Linked DNA regions of Homo sapiens: region 2 is linked to region 1. The links are contacts of gene promoters, found by promoter capture Hi-C in human tissues and cell types (Jung and others, 2019). All regions are on one chromosome and are shown on one strand. Each heading gives the region's core, a stretch centred on a gene start or on the middle of the fragment in contact. The rest is flanking DNA. Distances are from core to core; before and after follow the strand shown. Region 1 holds the start of OR1G1 (olfactory receptor family 1 subfamily G member 1). Region 2 overlaps LOC100288728 (a long non-coding RNA gene).

Region 1 (6,828 bases), core at 3,386-5,885:
TTATTCCCTCTGGTTTGTTTTTAACCTTATAACTTTCACTTCTTTCCTCCTTGCATGTTTCTTTCTTCATCAGTGGGGAGCATAAGTTCTCTACACTTTATTTCCACCTTCAAACTTGAACCTGGGTCCTAAGGCATCCAAACTAAGTTCACCAAAAATTGTAATCCATCTACCACAGACAAAATGTCTTCTAAAACAGCACATAGCTAATATAGAATATAAGAACGATTTTATTTTGAGTTGTTGGAGTTAGGGTTCCTAATAAGCCTAAGAAAATGCCTGCTGACTCCACGTGAAAAGAAAGAAGGACGATGCATGGAAAGGGTTTTCTATGTGGACGAAGGGCTGGCCATTCACTGGGCACGTGGTTGTCTAAAAGTTGAGACCTAAAGGTCTAAAAGGAGAAGGAAGGAAATAAGATCTCTGGTCAGTGACTTGGGGACCAAGAGAAAAAATGGAGGGGAAACGGGCTGAGGTTTCCATCTCTGCTAAACTAGAAACAGCCAAGAGCCCCACGATGAAGGAGGGTGAGGATTCTAAGGCCTTTTTAATCTGCGTAAGTCAATGAAAGGCTTGTCCTACATGAGGGAGAGGTGAGAATCAATTCCAGGCACCACAAAAAGCAACAGCTGTTAAAGTGAGGGAGCTGCAGGGGTGATCGTGCTCACCAGGGCGTCGGGAGAGCCTTGTAGATGCACCTGTAAATATGCACTGAGGCTGGCACGGTGCCTCACGCTTGTAATCCCAGCAATTTGGGAGGCCGAGGCAGTTGGATCATTTGAGTCCAGGAGTTCGAGACCAGCCTGGCCAGCGTGGCAAAACCCCATCTCTACTAAAAATAGAAAAATTAGCCAAGTGTGGTGTCATGTGCCTGGAATCCCAGCTACTCGGGAGGCTGGGGCAGGAGAATCGCTTGAACCCAGGAGGCAGAGCCTTTCATTGACTTAGGCAGATTAAAAAGGTGAGATTGCGCCACTGCATGCCAGCCTGGATGACAGAGTGAGACTCTGTCTTAAAAAAAAAAAAAATGCACTGAGCCCCACGAATCCACCCACTTCACCTAGAGCTCTGTCTTGGGAGGATGAGGAAGGCAGAGGCTAATAAACACATGCCTTGAGTGGTAATGGGGACTCTTGGTAGGGAGTAAGGGAAACATCACCTACTATGACCACATTTTGGCCAAGAACACGCAAGGGGGAGACCTTGGAGATTTCAGCGGCTGGCAGATAAAATGATTAAAGAAGACCACGTGGGCAGGTGAGAAGAACAAGAAGCTTGGGATTAAACAGTGGAGGCTGCATCCAGGCTCTGCCACTTGCTGGATGTGACTTAAGGCTCAAGGGATTCTTCGTTTTTCTATGAATGAAGGAAAGATACCCTTTTCTCATTAATGGAACATAACACTTTTAAGAATATTAATTATTTCCTTAATAAATGCAAAAAGTACCTTCCTACTTTGTTTTTTTACTTTGCATGTGATCTTTTTCTTTAAAAGAATTTTATTATTATTATTATACTTTAAGTTTTAGGGTACATGTGCACAACATGCAGGTTTGTTACATATGTATACATGTGCCATGTTGGTGTCCTGCACCCATTAACTCGTCAATGCTATTCCCTCCCCCCTCCCCCCACCCCACAACAGTCCCCAGAGTGTGATGTTCCCCTTCCTGTGTCCATGTGTTCTCATTGTTCAATTCCCATCTATGAGTGAGAACATGCGGTGTTTGGTTTTTTGTCCTTGCAATAGTTTACTGAGAATGATGATTTCCAATTTCATCCATGTCCCTACAAAGGACATGAACTCATCATTTTTATGGCTGCATAGTATTCCATGGTGTATTTTTAATTTAATTTGATCAAACCAATTATTCCTTTCCTTTCTTGTTTTCTTCACTGTTTTTTACTTAGAAAGTCCACCCTTGTCCTGAGAGTAAATATTGTGCTGCATTTTCTCCTGGTTGCTTTAGAGTTACATCTGCAGGGAAAATGCTTTAACCATCTGAAACTTATTCAGGTAAGTGCTATTAGGTTGGAATTTAAATTAATTTTCCAGAGACTTAACCAGCTTGTCCCAGCATTGTTCGTTCAATCTCTTCTTCCTTTTGATTGGCAGTGCCACTGTTAGTAAAGCAAAGTCTGAGGAATACTGTGCTCTGCTTCTGGGTTTTCTGTTTTTTCCTTTGATGAATTGTATTGAGGAGAGAAGTAACATATACCACAGTCCCTGGGGCATCCACATACTAGCAGAAGATAGTTCGGTAAGACATAGCCATGTTCAGGCCAGGCACGGTGACTCACGCCTGTAATCCCAGCACTTTGGGAGGCCAAGGTGGGCAGATCACCTGAGGTCAGGAGTTTGAAACTAGCCTGGCCAATGAGGAGAAACCCCATCTTTACTAAAAATACAAAAAAAAAAAAAATAGCCGGGTGTGGTGGCGTGTGCCTGTAGTCCCAGCTACTTGGGAGGCTGAAGCAGCAGAATTGCTTGAACCCAGGAGGCAGAGGTTGCAGTGAGCCAAGATTCTGCCACGGCACTCCAGCCTGGGTGACAGAGTGAGACTCCGTCTCAAAAATAAATAAATAAGAAATATCCATGGTCAGAGAGAGAATAAGACATAAGATGCCACTATTGCCTAGTAAGTAGTAATTTTAGTGTACGTAACTAAGGCTTACAAATCCATAGGTTATATTAAACTCTGAAGGTAAAAAAAAGCGGCACAGGGAAACTGATTCCGTGGGTTAATCACTCAGCTGAAACACTGTTCCATCCCAAGAATTTCACCTAGAAAGAATGCATTTGTTTGGAACACTTATCTCTCTGTAACCGTAGTGTTTCCCTACATATTCCTATGGCCAGGACTCCATTAACTCAAAGCTACCACTGAACCTACTAACAAAAAGGTTGGCTGGGTGTGGTGGCTCATGCCTGTAATCCCAGCACTTTGGGAGGCCGAGGCAGGTGGGTCACCTGAGGTCAGGAGTTCAAGTCCAGCCTGGCCAATGTGATGAAACCCCATCTCTACTAAAAATACAAAAAAAAAAAAAAAAAAAATAGCCAGGTGTGGTAGCAGTGGCCTGTAATCCCAGCTACTCAGGAGGCTGAGACAAGGGAATCACTTGAGCCCAGCAGGTGGAGACTGCAGTGAGCTGAGTTCGTGCTACTGCACTCCAGCCTGGGTGACAGAGTGAGACTCCATCTCAAAAATCATAACAATAATAATAAAGGTTCAGGCTAATTCTTATGCCTGATATTACCTCTATAGCAAAGCCCCTTTCCATTCTTCCCACTCTTTCCATTCTCTGGGGTTTATGTATTTACATGATAGATTCATACTGAGCATCTGTGTTGTACCAGCCTCAAGGCTAATGCTAGATTTCAAAGCTGAGCCAATTAGGCACCATCTCTGCCTACTCCCAGTGATGCTCACAGCAGAATGAGGGACACTCATATAAACAGACACTCAGAATCCAAGGTGACACGTGCTGTGATGGGGGAGGCACTGCATTAGGAAGGTCACGAACCTGAGTTTCTGGTGAGAGGATGAGTTGGGAAAGACTTCCCAGAAGAGGTGACATCTAAGGTGAGACCTGAAGCTTAGCTCGTCTGATAAATGGGATGGGAAAAACTATTTCAGCCTGAGAAAGCCTAAAGGTGAGGGAGTATCTGGGCCTTTAAAATAATTGAAACTATGATTAGTGCATAAAGTGTGGAGTGGAGGAGGGAGTTTCATGAGGAACTGGGGATGTCTGTAATAAATGACGGTAAGATCCAGGACATTCAGCCGTGTTCAGTTTAGAGTTTATCCTGGGAGTAATGAGGAGTGTATGAAGGATTTTTCAAGCAGAAAGACAAGAGTCGAATTTGATTTTTAGCAAGCCTATTCTCTGTGTATTTAGAACAGCAGGTGGCAGGTGGGCATACCTGGGGGCATGGAGATCAACTGCCCAAATCCAAGTGAGAAATCACAGTGCCCTGAATGACATGAGCTGCAGCTGGGACTGATGGTGACCAGTAAACAGAGAGACGTCAGTAAATTGTAGCCATATTGAGAAGGTAAAATTGCCAGGCTTTGGTGGTGGTTGGATGTAGGCAGGGAGGGAGAAACGTGGGTCAATAATGACGCTCAGGTTTCTGGCCAGACCCGCTGTGTAGATAACAGTGATAATGATTTCCATGTTAGCCATGCTTTTCCCAATTCCAAAACCCCTTTCCAGGAGCTGTCTTTTTAATTATTGGTACAATGGGCTCATTTGACCTGTAAAATCTTGGGTTGTATAAATGTCATAGTTTCTACATGAACACTACCAGAGCAAAGCCAGCAAGCCCCTCCAGCCCAGCCCCAAAATACACATATTGGCTTAATGCTTATGGAATAAATTTAAAAGCCTCTCATTGCATTACAAACAAATCTGTGGTTTCTCATAGCACCAAGCACAGGAATTTGCAAATATTTAGTCGAACCCTATGAAATGGCCATTTTTGCAGGTCCCAAAGAGTCAAATAGTGGAGATTTCCTATGATCCAACCTCACACTAGAAGATCAACACTGGAATATTGCATAATTTTCAGAGTTCACAATCCAGGGCTTACCAACGTCACCCAATTAACCCAACTTTCTTCCTACAGACAAATGGAGGGGAAAAATCTGACCAGCATCTCAGAATGTTTCCTCCTGGGGTTCTCTGAGCAGCTGGAGGAGCAGAAGCCCCTCTTTGGGTCCTTCCTGTTCATGTACTTGGTCACGGTGGCAGGCAACCTCCTCATCATTCTAGTCATCATTACTGACACTCAACTCCATACCCCCATGTACTTCTTTCTAGCCAACCTCTCCCTTGCAGATGCCTGCTTTGTGTCCACCACAGTCCCTAAGATGCTGGCAAACATACAGATCCAGAGTCAGGCCATCTCCTACTCAGGGTGTCTACTACAGTTGTATTTTTTCATGTTATTTGTGATGCTGGAGGCATTCCTCTTGGCGGTCATGGCCTATGACTGCTACGTGGCCATATGCCACCCACTTCATTACATTCTGATCATGAGCCCTGGGCTCTGCATCTTCCTCGTGTCTGCATCCTGGATCATGAATGCCCTCCACTCCCTTCTACACACACTTCTGATGAACAGCCTGTCCTTCTGCGCAAACCATGAGATCCCACACTTCTTCTGTGACATCAATCCCCTCCTGAGTCTGTCCTGCACAGACCCCTTCACCAATGAGCTGGTGATCTTCATCACTGGGGGTCTCACAGGACTCATTTGTGTGCTTTGCCTGATTATCTCTTACACGAACGTTTTCTCGACCATCCTGAAGATCCCATCAGCTCAGGGGAAGCGGAAAGCCTTTTCCACCTGCAGCTCTCATCTCTCCGTGGTCTCTCTCTTCTTTGGGACTTCTTTTTGTGTTGATTTCAGTTCTCCCTCAACCCACTCGGCCCAGAAGGACACAGTTGCATCAGTGATGTACACAGTGGTAACTCCAATGTTGAATCCCTTTATCTACAGTTTGAGGAACCAAGAAATAAAGTCTTCCCTGAGAAAGTTAATCTGGGTTCGGAAAATTCATTCCCCTTAGTGGTAGTGACTTGACATCCAATATGGGGGTCTCCATGCACCTGCGTTCACCACAGTAAGCAGTGAAGAATGAAAGATGGAGAGAATCTAGAGACCTCTGTTCCAGTACCTACGATCTGAACCTGAAATATTCATGTCTAAGCTACAGGACTGCATCATAACCCATCATCAGGCCAATGTCACAGGTGAAGTTCTTACAATTATGTTCTAAAACCACAGCCATCCAGATGTATAATATAATGTCATGCCTTATTATATTTACTATAGTTAATAATATTGATGATTTAATAATGTTATTAGTTAATGCTTTTTAAACAACATGGGACAGCTCATGACTGAAATAAGGGAATATCTGGCTGGGCTGTTGTATAGGGCCAAGAATAAAATTCAGGGAAGGACGACCTTCCCCCAGCATCACTGTGATCCTGATCACTCGGATCCCCACCCACAGTGTTTCTGCCACAGGCACTGCCCGTATCTGTGATGCTCCCATGCTCAGTGATGAGGAACTGGGTCTAGGAAGGGCTTGATGGAGATGGCATCTTCAGACAGACTCACTGCAGTGTCTTACCAGGCCTCCAAGACCCATAATCCTCCTGCCACCTTAGACTTCATGTGAAAACCTCAGGTTCCTCTTCAGGGCAATTTTTTCCACACTCATTTCATCTCTGCAGCCCCAATGCTTACCACATGGCGTAATGCCTGGTACCATTGATAGGTGCTGAATCCCACTGAAATGGTTACAACTTAAAGTTAGGGGAAAAGAATGATTTTTATGGACACTTTATGCTCTCCTGCCTGAATGATTAAAGCCTCCTCCTAGTTGGTCTTCAGTCCTCAGTCTACCCGCCTTCCATCAACTCTGTACACCATAATCAGATTAATCTTCATAGGGTACCATTATATCACTAAGAGAAATGTCCAGTGGCTTGAAACTGCCTGCAGAATCAACTTCCAGCTGTTTACCGTAGCATGCGAGCCCAGTGCCACCAGTTCATAACTGATGTCCACAGTTAACCACACTCTTCCGTATTTCTCCCAAGGTCAACTCAGGCCAACGGTTTCAGAATACATTGATTATTGTGCATGGTTGCCAAAAACGACTTGGAAAGCTTTGTCAGTAGACGTTGTGGCAAGACTCTGTACAGTACGTTACAGCCACAACCAATACGTTTCTATAGGAAAATAAAATGTCACAACTGGGTGCTGTTTTTCATTCTTGTTGTCTGTTTACCTTCAGGTATCTGACTGCA
Region 2 (7,502 bases), core at 2,451-4,950, 45 kb before region 1:
GCAATCGAGTTCATTTTTCTTGTTTTTTTTTGTTTTGTTGTGTTTTGAGATGGAGTCTCACTCTTGTTGCCCAGGCAGGAATGCAGTGGTGCCATCTCGGCTCACTGCAGCCTCCGCCTCCCAGGTTCAAGGGATTCTCCTGCCTCAGCCTCCCATGTAGCTGGGACTACAGGCACCCGCCATCATGCTTGGCTAATTTTTGTATTTTTTAGTAGAGGTGGGGTTTCACTATGTTGGCCAGGCTGGTCTCCAACTCCTGACCTCAGGTGTCTGTCCACCTCAGCCTCCCAAAGTGCTGGTAGAGGCTGTTTTGCCTGTTTAGGGCTTTCAGTGATAGGGAGCCCCCCACAGTAAAGCGACCCACCCCACTTTGGATTGGGTTCCCATTTTACCTTGTGATGCTGTAGCCTGGGCATTTTTTAGTACTAACCAGTTGGGGCTCACTGGACATTCAGGAGCATATTAATTTCCATATATTTGTATATTTTCCAAAAATTTCTCTCATTATTGATTTCTAGTTTTATTCCATTGTGGTCAGAGAAGATACTTGATATTATTTGAGTTTTTTTGAATGTGTTAAGACTTGTTTTGTGACCTAACATATGGTTTATCCTTGAGAATGATTCATGTGCTAAGGAGAGGAATGTGAATTCAGCAGCCATTGGAGCAAATGTTCTATAAATATCAATTAGATCCATGTAGGTCTATAGTGCAGATTAAGTCTGAAGTTTCTTTGTTGACTTTCTTTCTGGAAGATCTGTCCAATGCTAGTGGGCTGTTGAAGTCTCCAGTATTATTGCATTGGGGTTTATCTCTCTCTTTAGCTCTAATAATGTTGCTTTATATATCTAGGTGCTCCAATGTTGGGTGCATACATATTTAAAATTGTTATATCCTTTTGCTGAATTGATCCCTTTATCATTATATAATGACCTTCTTTGTCTCTTTTTATAGTTTTTGCTTGAAATTTATTTCGTCTAATATAAATATACCCACTCCTACTCTTTTTCCACCCCTTTATTTTCAGTCTCTGTGTACCTTTATAGATGAAGCGTGTTTCTTGTAGGCAACAGATCACTGGGTCCTGCTTTTTTTCAGTCAGCCACTCTATGTTTTTGATTGGATAGTTTAGTCCATTTACATTCAGTGTTATTATTGATGAGTAAGGACTTACCACTGCCATTTTATTATTTGTTTTATAGTTGTTGTGTGGTCTTACTTTCCTTCCTATCTTTTCCTTTTTTTTTTTTTTTTTTTTTTTTGAGATGGAGTCTTGCTCTGTCGCCAGGCTAGAGTGCAGTGGCACGATCTCGGCTCACTGCAATCTCTGTTTCCCAGGTTCAAGTGATTCTCCTGCCTCAGCCTCCCAAGTAGCTGGGATTACAGGTGCCCGCCACCATGCCTGGCTAATTTTTGTATTTTTAGTAGAGATGGAGTTTCACCATGTTGGCCAGGATGGTCTCGATCTCCTGACCTCGTGATCCACCCACCTCGGCCTCCCAAAGTGCTGGGATTACAGGCATGAGCCACTGCGCCTGGCCCTCCTTCCTTTTTTTTATTTTAGTGAAGGTGATTTCCTCTGATAGTATGTTTTAATTTCTTGCTTTTTATTTTTTTGTGTATCCATTGTATGTTTTTGGATTTGAGGTTATCATGAGGTTTGCAAATAATGTGTTATAACCTATTATTTTAAACTGATGGCAACTTAACATGATTGCATAAACAAACAAGCAAAAAGAAAATGAATAAAAACTTTACACTTTAACTTCATCCCTCCACCTCTCTAATTTTTTGATGTTTCTATTTATATCTTATTGTACTATCTGTGTCTTAAAAAGTTGTTTTGGTAATTATTTTTGATTGGTTCTTCTTTAAGTCTTTCTAATTAAGATCAGAAGAATTTACACACCACAATTAATATTCTATGTACTTACCATTAGCACTGAGTTTTGTGCCTTCAGCTGATTTCTTATTGCTCGTTAACATCTTTGTCTTTCAGATCGGAGACCATCCTTTAGGATTTCTTGTAGAACAGGTCTAGTGTTAATGAAATCCCTCAGCAAGCTGTTTCTCTGGGAAGGTTTTTACTTCTCCTTAGTATTTGAAGGATATTTCCACCAGATACACTCTTCTAGGGTAAACTTTGTTTTTTCCTTCAGTGCTTTAAATATATCATGCTACTCTCTCCTACCCTTTTCTCCACTGAAAAGTCTGCAGCCAGATATATTGGAGCTTCATTGTATGTTATTTTTTTCTTTTCTCTTGCTCCTTTTGGGATCCTTTCTTTATCTTTGATCTTTGGAAGTTTGATTATTAAATAACTTGAGGTAGTCTTTTTTGGGTTAAATCTGCTTGCTTTTCTACAACCTTCTTGTATATTGATATCTTTCTCTAGGTTTAGGATATTCTCTGCTATTATCCCTTTGAATAAACTTTCTATCATTATCTCTTTACCTCCTCTTTAAGGCCAATCACTCTTAGATTTGCCTTTTTGAGACTATTTTCTAGATCCTGTGGGTATGCTTCATTCTTTTTTATTCTTTTTTTTTTTTTGCCTCCTTTGTGTATTTTCAAATACCCTGTCTTCCAGCTTACTATTTCTTTCTCCTGCTTGATCATTTTTTCTATTAAGAGACTCTGCTGTATTCTTTTGCAGGTCAATTGCATTTTTCAGCTTCAGAATTGCTACTTGATTCTTTTTATCCATTTGAATTTCTTTGTTAAATTTATCTGATAGTATTCTGAGTTCCTTCTCAGTGTTATCTTGAATTTCTTTGAGTTTCCTCAAAACAACTATTTTGAATTCTCTCTCTGAAAGTTCACATATCTCTGTTTCTCCAGGAGTGGTTCCTCTTACCTTATGTAGTTCATTTGGTGAGGCCGTGTTTTCCTGGATTGTCTTGATGCTTGTGGAAGTTTTTCAGTGGCTGAGGATTGAAGGGTTAGATATTTATTGTAGTCTTGCCAGTCTGGACTTGTTTGTACCTGTCCTCTTGGAAATGCTTTCTAGGTATTTGAAGGGACTTGGGTGTTGTGATCTACATTTTTTTTTGTCACTGCAGCCATATCTGCATTAGGGTGCACCTCAAGCTCAGTAATGCTGTGGTTTTTGCCAACTTGTAGAGGTACCTACCTCCTTGGTGGTCTTGGATAAGGTCCAGAAGGATTATCTGGAGTACCAGGCAGAAACTTTTGATCTCTTCCCTTACTTTTTCCAAAACAAATGGAATCTCTCTCTCCCCTTCTCTGTGCTGAGCTTCCTGGAAGCTTCCTGAGCTTCCTGGGGGAGGGGTAACACAAGTACTCCTGTGGCCACCACCACTAGGGCTGTGCTGGGTCAGACCTGAAGACAGCACAGCACTGGGTATCATCCAAGACCCACTGTTACCACTCCTTGGCTACCACTTGTGTTTGCTCAAGGCCCTAGGGCTCTACAGTCAGCAGGTGGTAAAGACAACCAGGCTTGTCTTCTTCACTTTGGACTGCCAAGTCACCCAGGCCCTGGGTGAGTCCAGAGATGCCATCTGGGAGCCAGGGCCTATAGTTGGAAGCCTTAGAAATCTACCTGGTGCTCAATTTACTGCATCTGAAGATGACACCCAAACCACAAGAAAAAGGCCTTCCCACTCTTCCCCCACCTTTCCTCAGACAGAGGAGTCTCTCCCCATGTCCACCACCACCACAGGCCCATAAGAAATACTGACAGGTGTATTAGGCTGTTCTTGCATTTCTATAAACAAATACCTGAGATTGGATAATTTAAAAGAAAAGAGGTTTAATTGGCTCATGGTTCTGCAGCCTATACAGGAAGCATAACACTGGCATCTGCCTCTGGGGAGGCCTCAGATAGCTTTTACTCATGGTGGAAGTTTGAGGCACTTTACATGGTGAGAATGGGAGCAATAGAGAGAGAGGTGGGGAAGGGGCGTGCTTCACACTTAATCATATTTTGCAAGAACTCACTTATTATCACAAGAAAGCACCAAGCTATGGAGAATCTCCACCCATGACCCAAACACCTCCCATCAGGCCCCATCTGCAACACTGGAAATTATAATTCAACATGAGATTTGGGCAAGGACAAATATCCAAACTATATAATACCATTTCTGGTCCCCCACAAATCTCATGTACTTCTCACATTGCAAAACACAATCATGCTTTCTCAACAGTCCCCCAAAGTCTTAACTTGTTCCAAAAGTTCAATTTCTCATCCAAGACAAGGCAAATCCCTTCCACCTGAGTTTATAAAATCAAAAACAAGTTATGGACTTCCAAGATACAATGGGGCTATAGGCATTGGTTAAACATTCTCATTGCAAAAGGGAGAAATTGGCCAAAAGAAAGGAGCTGTAGGTTCCACTCAAGCTTGAAACCCAGCAGGGCAGTCATTAAATCTCAAAGCTCCAAAATAATCTTTGACTCCGTGTCCTACATCCTGGGCACACTGATATGAGGAATGGCCTCCCAAGGCTTTGGGCAGCTCTACCACTGTGGCTTTCCAGGGTTCAGCCCCTGTGGCTTCTCTCATGGCCTGGAGTTGAGTACCTGTGGCTTTTCCAGGTATAGGGTGCAAGCTGCCAGTGGATCTACCATTCTAGGGTCTGCAGGGTGGTGGCCCTTTTTCCACAGCTCCATTAAGCTGTGCCCCAGTGGGCACACTTTGTATGGGTCCTCCAATCCCCCATTTCCTCTCCTTACTGCCCTGTGAGGGCTCTGCCTCTGCAGCAGACTTCTGCCTGGATGTCAGGCTTTCCCATACATCCTCTGGCATCTAGGTGAAGGCTGCCAAGCCTCCTTCACTCTTGCTGTGCCCCTGCAAGCTTAACACCACATGGAAGCCACTAAGACTTATGGCTTACATTCTCCAAAGTGGCAGCATGAGCTGTACCTGGGCTCCTTTGAATCACAGCTGGAGCTGGAGTGGCTGGGATATGGGAACAGTGTCCCAAGGCTACACAGGGCAGCAGAACCCTGAGCCTGGCCCAAGAAACCATTCTTCCCTCCTAGGCCTCTGGATCCATGATGGGAGGGGCTGCCATGAAGGTCTCTGAAATGCTTTCAAGGACTTTTTCACATTGTCTTGGATAGTAGCACTTGCCTTCCCTTTAGTTATGCAAGTATCTCTAGCAAGTGGTTGCTCTACAGCCTGCTTGAATTCCTCTCCATAAAAAGTTCTTTCTTTCTTTGCCACATAGCCAGGCTCCACATTTTTCAAACTTTTACATTCTGCTTCCTGTTTAAATATAAATTCCAACCTTAAGTTATTTCTTTGCTCCTGCATCTGAGTGTGGGCTGTTAGAAGCTGCCAGGCAATTTCTTCAATGTTTTGCTGCTTAGAAATTTCTTCTGCCAAATATCTTAAGTCATCATTCTCAAGTTCGACCTTCCACAGATCCCTAGAGCATGAACACAATGCACCCCAGCTCTTTGCTAAGGCATAAACTGGGTGACCTTTGCTCCAGTTTCTAGTAAGTTCCTCATTTACATCTGAATCCTCATCAGCCTGGACTTCACTGTCCATATTACCATCAGTATTTTGGTTACAACGATTTAGCCAGTCTTTAAGAAGTTCGAAACTTTTCCACATTTTTCTGTCTTCTTCTGAGCCCTTCAAACTCTTCCATCCTCTGCCCATTACCCAGTTCTAAAGTCACTTCCACATTTTCAGATGTAGCCATTTTCAGGTATCTTTATAGAAATTCCCCTCTTCTCAATACCAATTTTCCATGTTAGGCTGCTCTTGCATTGCTATAAAGAAATATCCAAGACTGGGTAATTTATAAGAAAAGAGGTTTAATAGGCTTACAGTTCTGCAGGCTGTACATCAGCATCTGCTTCCGGGAAGGCCTCAGGGAACTTTTCCTCTGGCAGAAGGGTGCAGACACTTCACATGGCAAAAGTGGGAGAGAAAGACAGTTGTTATGGGAGGTGCTACACACGTAAACAACTAGATCTCTCAAGAACTCGCTCATGATCACGAGGCGTGCACCAAACCGTAAGGAATCTGCCTTCCTGACCCAAGCACCTCCCACCAGGCCCTATCTCCAACACTGGAGATTACAATTCAACATGAGATTTGGGCAGGGATAAATATCCAAACTATGTCAGCAGGCTACTGCCGGTGTTCGCTTAAGGCCCCAGGGCTCTTCAATCAGCCTCATGGTGAATGCTGCCAGGCCTGGGACTCACCCTTCAGGGCAAAAGGCTCCCTTTGGGTCCAGGGTATGCCCAGAAATGCCATCCAAGAGCCAAGAACTGGAATCAAGGACTCCAACAGCCTGCTTGGTGCTCTACCCGACTGTGGCTGAGCTGGTACCTAAGCTGCAAGACAAAGTCCCCTTTGTGCTTCCCTCTGCTTTTCTTAACCAGAAGGCATCTCTTTTCATAGACAGTACAGCTGTGAGTGTACTGGGTCTAACCTGAAGCCAGAATATCTGAGTCTCACCCAAGGCTGATGGTGTGTACTACTTGGTTACTGCTGCTGATTATTTGGGGCCCAAGGGCTCTTTAGTCAGCAGGTGATAAATCTTGCCAGGACTGAGTTCTTCCCTTCAAGGCAGCAGGTTCCCTTCTGGCCCAGGGTGTGTCCAGAAATGTCTGGGAATTTGGGCCTGAAATGGGGGCCTTGCAACTGCCCAGTGCCCTGGGCACTGTGGCTGAGCTGGTATCCAAGTTGCAAGACAAAGTCCTCTTATTCACTCTCAAGCAGAAGGGCCTCTTTCAAAGCTGCAAGCTATGCTGCCTCGGGTTGGTGAGGGGTGGCACAAGCACTCCTTTAGCTGCCCCATCTGGTGTCTCACTAGGTCACGTGCCCTCCCCTCCAAGTCCACTATCTCTGAGCCCAGCACAGCACCAGGACTCACCTAGCAGTTTCAGTCCTTGTGGCCTAGACTGCATTTCAAGTTTTTGCAGGACCCCAGAGTACTTTAGCCTGTGGTGGTGAGCCTTGCTGAAACTTGGGTTCTGACCCAGCTGCTGGGATGGGCAATTTTCCTCTGGCTAGAGTTTGTCTAAATGCGCCCTTCATGGACATTAGCTGAGTTTTACCCACGGTTGGCAGCACTGACTTTCAATACAAAGTCCCACACTCACTGCATTCTCTCTCCCCCAAGCACTCAGTCTCTCTCTGCACCATGTAGCCACTGCTGGGGGATGGGAGAAGGGCGACGTCTGTAATTCCAGACTGTCTTTCCTACACTTTTCAGTGCCTCTTTCAGCAATACGAAGTTCAAAACAGGTGCTGTGATTGCTTGCCTGATTTTGGATCTCATGAAGGTGGTTTTTGTGTGTAGATAGTTGTAAATTTGGTGTTCTTACAAGGAGGATGATCAGTGTAGGTTTCTATTGAGCCATCTTCCTCTGCATCCTCTATAGCTATTTTGTTGAGAGTTTTTATCAAGAAAGAATGTTCAATTTTGTTAAATGTTTTTTTCTACTTCTGTTGAGACACTTGTGTCTCTGTGATCATTTATTTCTTTCATTTTAAAATTCATTCTGTT

The links. Contacts are between HindIII fragments. The study calls those that stand out against the background at their distance.
Region 2: a contact is called between a fragment that was not itself captured here and the fragment with the promoter of OR1G1 in region 1, in 10 of the 25 tissues and cell types used here (dorsolateral prefrontal cortex, heart left ventricle, lymphoblastoid cells and 7 more).

What each region holds. Positions count from the first base shown.
Region 1 is chr17:3,125,358-3,132,185 of GRCh38, reverse strand. OR1G1 (olfactory receptor family 1 subfamily G member 1) reads left to right here and starts at 4,635. Exons shown (of 1, transcript NM_003555.1): 1 at 4,635-5,576. The coding sequence starts at 4,635. The coding sequence ends at 5,576. The HindIII fragment of the contact is 6,207 bases long and covers 2,437-6,828 here.
Region 2 is chr17:3,168,950-3,176,451 of GRCh38, reverse strand. The region is part of intron 1 of LOC100288728 (a long non-coding RNA gene); the gene reads left to right. Among named protein-coding and RNA genes, the nearest start is that of OR1A2, 25 kb to the left of the region's middle. The HindIII fragment of the contact is 5,977 bases long and covers 712-6,688 here.